Regions from separate parts of the Homo sapiens genome. Here region 1 is linked to region 2. Evidence: promoter capture Hi-C in human tissues and cell types (Jung and others, 2019). All regions are on one chromosome and are shown on one strand. Each heading gives the region's core, a stretch centred on a gene start or on the middle of the fragment in contact. The rest is flanking DNA. Distances are from core to core; before and after follow the strand shown. Region 1 overlaps PAK1 (p21 (RAC1) activated kinase 1). Region 2 holds the start of AQP11 (aquaporin 11).

Evidence for each region. Contacts are between HindIII fragments. The study calls those that stand out against the background at their distance.
Region 1: a contact is called between a fragment that was not itself captured here and the fragment with the promoter of AQP11 in region 2, in 1 of the 25 tissues and cell types used here (small bowel).

The regions. Positions count from the first base shown.
Region 1 is chr11:77,325,247-77,327,946 of GRCh38, reverse strand. The region is part of intron 14 of PAK1 (p21 (RAC1) activated kinase 1); the gene reads left to right. Among named protein-coding and RNA genes, the nearest start is that of GDPD4, 25 kb to the right of the region's middle. The HindIII fragment of the contact is 3,689 bases long and covers 1-2,700 here.
Region 2 is chr11:77,588,635-77,591,334 of GRCh38, reverse strand. AQP11 (aquaporin 11) reads right to left here and starts at 1,382. Exons shown (of 3, transcript NM_173039.3): 1 at 724-1,382. The coding sequence starts at 1,342. RefSeq lists a silencer at 1,406-2,035. The HindIII fragment of the contact is 8,161 bases long and covers 1-2,700 here.

The DNA.
Region 1 (2,700 bases), core at 62-2,561, 260 kb after region 2:
GGTAGATCTTCCTCCATCCCTTTATTTTGAGCCTATGTGTGTCTCTGCACGTGAGATGGGTTTCCTGAATACAGCACACTGATGAGTCCTGACTCTTTATCCAGTCTGCCAGTCTGTGTCTTTTAATTGGAGCATTTAGCCCATTTACGTTTAAAGTTAATATTGTTATGTGTGAATTTGATCCTGTCATTATGATGTTAGCTGGTTATTTTGCTCGTTAGTTGGTGCAGTTTCTTCCTAGCCTTGATGGTCTTTACAATTTGGCATGTTTTTGCAGTGGCTGGTACTGGTTGTTCCTTTCCATGTTTAGTGCTTCCTTCAGGAGCTCTTGTAAGGCAGGCCTGGTGGTGACAAAATCTCTCAGCATTTGCTTGTCTGTAAAGGATTTTATTTCTCCTTCACTTATGAAGCTTAGTTTGGCTGGATATGAAATTCTGGGTTGAAAATTCTTTTCTTTAAGAATGTTGAATATTGGCCCCCACTCTCTTCTGGCTTGTAGAGTTTCTGCTGAGAGATCAGCTTTTAGTCTGATGGGCTTCCCTTTGTGGGTAACCCGACCTTTCTCTCTGGCTGCCCTTAACATTTTTTCCTTCATTTCAACTTTGGTGAATCTGACAATTATGTGTCTTGGAGTTGCTCTTCTCGAGGAGTATCTTTGTGGCATTCTCTGTATTTCCTGAATTTGAATGTTGGCCTGCCTTGCTAGATTGGGGAAGTTCTCCTGGATAATATACTGCAGAGTGTTTTCCAACTTGGTTCCATTCTCCCCGTCACTTTCAGGTATACCAATCAGACGTAGATTTGGCCTTTTCACATAGTCCCATATTTCTTGGAGGCTTTGTTCGTTTCTTTTTATTCTTTTTTCTCTAAACTTCTCTTCTCGCTTCATTTCATTCATTTCGTCTTCCATCACTGATACCCTTTCTTCCAGTTGATCGCATCGGCTCCTGAGGCTTCTGCATTCGTCACGTAGCTCTCGTGCCTTGGTTTTCAGCTCCATCAGGTCCTTTAAGGACTTGTCTGCATTGATTATTCTTGTTATCCATTCATCTTATTTTTTTTCAAAGCTTTTAACTTCTTTGCCATTGATTCGAATTTCCTCCTGTAGCTCAGAGTAGTCTGATCATCTGAGGCCTTCTTTCAACTCGTCAGAGTCATTCTCCATCCAGCTTTGTTCCGTTGCTGGTGAGGAGCTGCGTTCCTTTGGAGGAGGAGAGGCGCTCTGATTTTTAGAGTTTCCAGTTTTTCTGCTCTGTTTTTTCGAGACAGGATCTCTCTCTGTTGCCCAGGCTGGAGTGCATGGCGCAATCATGGCTCACTGTAGCCTCAACCTCCCCAGGTTCTGCTGATCTTCCCACTTCAGCCTCCAGAGTAGCTGGGACTATAGGCGTGCACCACCATACCTGCCTAATTTTTCTATTTTTTGTAAAGACAGGGTTTTGCCATGTTGCTCAGGCTGGGCTCAAACGATCTGCCCACCACAGTCTCCCAAAGTGCTGGAATTACAGGCATGGCATCAGCCACCATGCCCATCCATGGAACATAAGTTTAGAAGATAATTAGTGAGTGTGGCTTTTGGAGTCTTTACACTTTATTCATTGGAAATCCTCAGATAATGGCAATGATACTCTACTTATTGAGAGTGAGATTTTGCCAGTTTGTGGGGAAACCCGGAGTCAGGGGTTTACTAGGCCTTTTATACTCCTGCCTGCCTAATCCTGATAATTTTATATGGTTGCAAAAATTGCCTTTAGCAGGCCGCATCATTTGTATTTAACATATATGTTTCAAGTACAATTTCTTATAACTAGTGTTCTTTTATTGTATTGCCCACTAGTGATCTAATAGTAAGTATCACATGCAACTTTATGAAGGCATGCACTGTCATTTGCTTTCGTATTATGAAGCCCAGAAGTGACAGAGCAGGGCAGGGCAGGGCAGGGCATACTGCCCTGTGTTAATTATGAATCTCTTTCCTATTGGATTATAACCTCTATTTTGTTAATCCCTGAGTCTCATGTTTTACCTAGGACTTGACTCAGGATAGGTACTCAAAATATATTTATTGAATTGAATGAAATTACTGGAAGAACCCACATTGGAATATCACCCTCTGGAACATACTTAGCATGTCTTTGTAATTGAGGTTACTGATTATGGCATACTGGCCTATTAGTTATGAGATCTGGGTTCTGCCAAGTATAACCCATTAGTCTCTAGTATCTGTTGGAACTAAAAGTCTCTTAGTACAATGTAGGACCCCTTTTGCTGTTCATGAGAGTTGTATTCTGGAAACTGTGGGCACTGGGAAATGTGTAAATACTATATGCTAAGCCTGCGATTAGTAAAGATACCATTCTTAATTAAATACCAAATTATAGTTCTTGAAAGGTTAGTGACCTCTAAAGTTTTCTTCCTGATATAGTAATATAACTAGTAATAAATGGGTTATATTGAATCTTTACCATATTTTAGGCACTAAACACTTTATATATTTAGGCACTAAGCACTTTATATATTGTCCTTTACAACAACTCTGTGAGTCATAGGTTCTATTCTCATTTTTACAGGTGAGAAAACTGAGGTTTCAAGTGTTTAGTAACTTTTCCATGATAGCTGGTAAGTAGCAGATCCAGGATTTCAGCCTGTTTGGCTCTCAAGTGTGTATGCTCTTGGCCACTGCTCTTAATAGGCTCAAAG
Region 2 (2,700 bases), core at 133-2,632:
ACTAGATTGCCCACTGCATCTGAGATCTGTCAAAGTAAACAAATGGTTTAAAAGAAATCAACAGATTTCTCAAGAGTTATATTTTAAAAAGCATCTTTAATTTGAAGCAAGTTATCATTTAAACATTTTTCTTAATAGGTCACTTAAAAGTTCATGTATAACTCAAAATGAATTATTAAGGAAATAAGAAATTTCATAACTCAAAATGAATTATTAAGGAAATAAGAAATGACTTTAAATCATTTATAGGACTAAAATGGAACTACAAAATTTCTACCCTCCGCTCTTATACTAACCAATCATGTGCCTTGTGCTTTAAATCGAAAGGAACTTTGTAAAGCCAGGATCATTTTTCAGTAAGAGTATCCGAAACGATCTATACCACCTTGGCATGAAGAAAGAGGCAGTTAATAAGTTATCTTTCCTTTCTACCATTAAAACAATCCCTTTGTAGGATATCTGAACCCTTGGCAATATCTCACAGTATCTCAGTTTCAGCACAGAGGTGGCTCCTTTCTCTGGGTGTTCAAAGCAGCACTGCATGAAGGCTCTACGTGTCGGCCCTACTGGTTAAGAACGGGCTGCAAAATGGTTAGAATAACGGGGATACCAGCATTTACATCATAGCGGGATAGACGGTTTCAAATGTATTTTAGTAAAGAACTTACAGCCTCATGTCATAGAGGCTCTGGAAGTGCCAAGTATTTGGTGAGAATGACAAACCTGCATAGACCAAAAAGGTGATGAGTGCAGCCAGCAGGTGGATACGAAGCTTGGTTCGGACTTCCTGGAAGTGCAGCAGAGCGCTGTGGAAGAGAAAGGAGCAGACGGCCTCTGTGATGACCGCTTTGAGCAAGTCGACTCGGATGGGATTCTTGCAAGCGAAGCTCCTCTCGCTGACGTGATACTGGGTCAGACCCAAGCTCCACAAGGCGCTTGTGCAGTACCTGCTGCACAGGGCACTAACCAGCTGAGCCAATAGCCTCACCGCACCCGTCTCGGGGGACATGCCCCCCAGCATCATCTGCATCATCACGCCGCACGGGTTGCTGGACGTGCCCACCAGAGTCAGGCCATGCACAAGCGAGAAGAAGTAGACGAGCGTCAGCGTCCAGGTGGGGTGCGCGGGGTGCTGTTCGCTCAGCAGTTGCAGCTCGTGGGTGCAGCAGCAGAGCTGGAAGGTGGCTAGAAACTCCAGGACGAAGGCGTGGGCCACCGGCCTGTGCAGCTGCTGCCGGGCGACTACGCGGGCCAGCCCCATGAGCAGCACCACCGACAGCATCAGTCCCAGCGAGGTGCAGGTGTCCTGCAGCTCGGACCGGAGCCCCAGCAGCGGCGACATGGCTCCGTCGCCGCCTGAGCGGGTTGCGGGCTCCGGCTCTGGGTAGGAGGCGGTCTCCAGGCCCGAGTCCGAAGTCCGCAGCCCCTCCCCTCCTCACGCCCCTCGGGGCGGGACGAGCGGGAGGCTCCCGAGCGGCACACTTAAGAAGTCCTCCCCGCCTCCCCGGCTTGGCGCTGGGGTGTTGGAACCAGAGCCGAGGAGGCGGGGAGGCGGGGAGGCGGGGAGGCGCGGGGAGGCGCGGGGAGGCGAAGGGAGGTAGCCTAGGGCGCCGGCCGCAGGGCCAACGGTCAGCCGAGCCCACCGCGCACTCACCCTCCGCAGTCTCCCTCAGGGCCTTGTAGGCGGGCGCGGCGGCGGAGGGCCGGCGCGGCGCGGTCGACGCAGCGCTCTTGGTGCCCACTGCGCACGCGTGCTGCGGCCCTTGCGCCCCTGCGGGCGGTGACACCCGGACCACGGGGCGGAGAGGAGCGGCACGGCGCGGCGGAGCTCTGATGGTTGCTTTGCAGCGAGGACCTTAGAGTTTTTCTTTCCCCGCTCCACACTGTAAAACCGTGGAGCTGGAAAGACCGCTGAAGGCCATCTCACATAGCCACCTCGTTTTTATCAATGGGCGACTGAAATTGAGAGGGGAGACGCGGCGCAGGGGGCGGGTGAGTTAGTGGGCGTAGACCGGTGCGCAGGGCCTCCTGGAGCCTTGCTTTTCTTCACCTGCCAAAAAACATTTCTAAAAATGGTGGTAATATATGCCAGATAAAATTCGCCACTTTAATCAATTTAAGTGTATATTTCAGTGGCATCGATTACCCTCACAGTGTTGTTCAACAGTCACCTCTTTTTTCCAGAACTTGAGCGGTGATTCTTCAAAGTGTAGCCTAGTTTTAGCATGTGACTGTCTATAACCTTTGGCATGAACTCTTTACGTATAATATGAAACAGTTGTGTCTTACTGTTACATGCACTCTTCGTGAAGAGGAAACAACAGGTAACTGGAGAGGTCTGTTTCCAAGAACTGGGGGTCCTGGCGCACCTCTTCCATCTGCTTTGAAAGCAGGAATACGGCTGCGTGAGGTGGAGCGCGTCCGGAGTCCCAGCACGGAGAGGCTTAGGTGGGAAGACCGCTTGACCCCAGGAGTTCCAGGCTGCAGTGAGCTGAGATCGCGCCACTGCACCCCTGCCTGGGCCACAGAGCGAGACGCTGTTTTTAGAAACAAAAACAACAACAAAAACCGGGCGCGGCTGGGCGCGGTGGCTCACGCCTATAATCCCAGCACTTTGGGAGGCCGAGGCGGGCGGATCACCGGAGGTCGGGAGTTCGAGACTAGCCTGACCAACATGAGAAACCCCCGTCTCTACTAAAA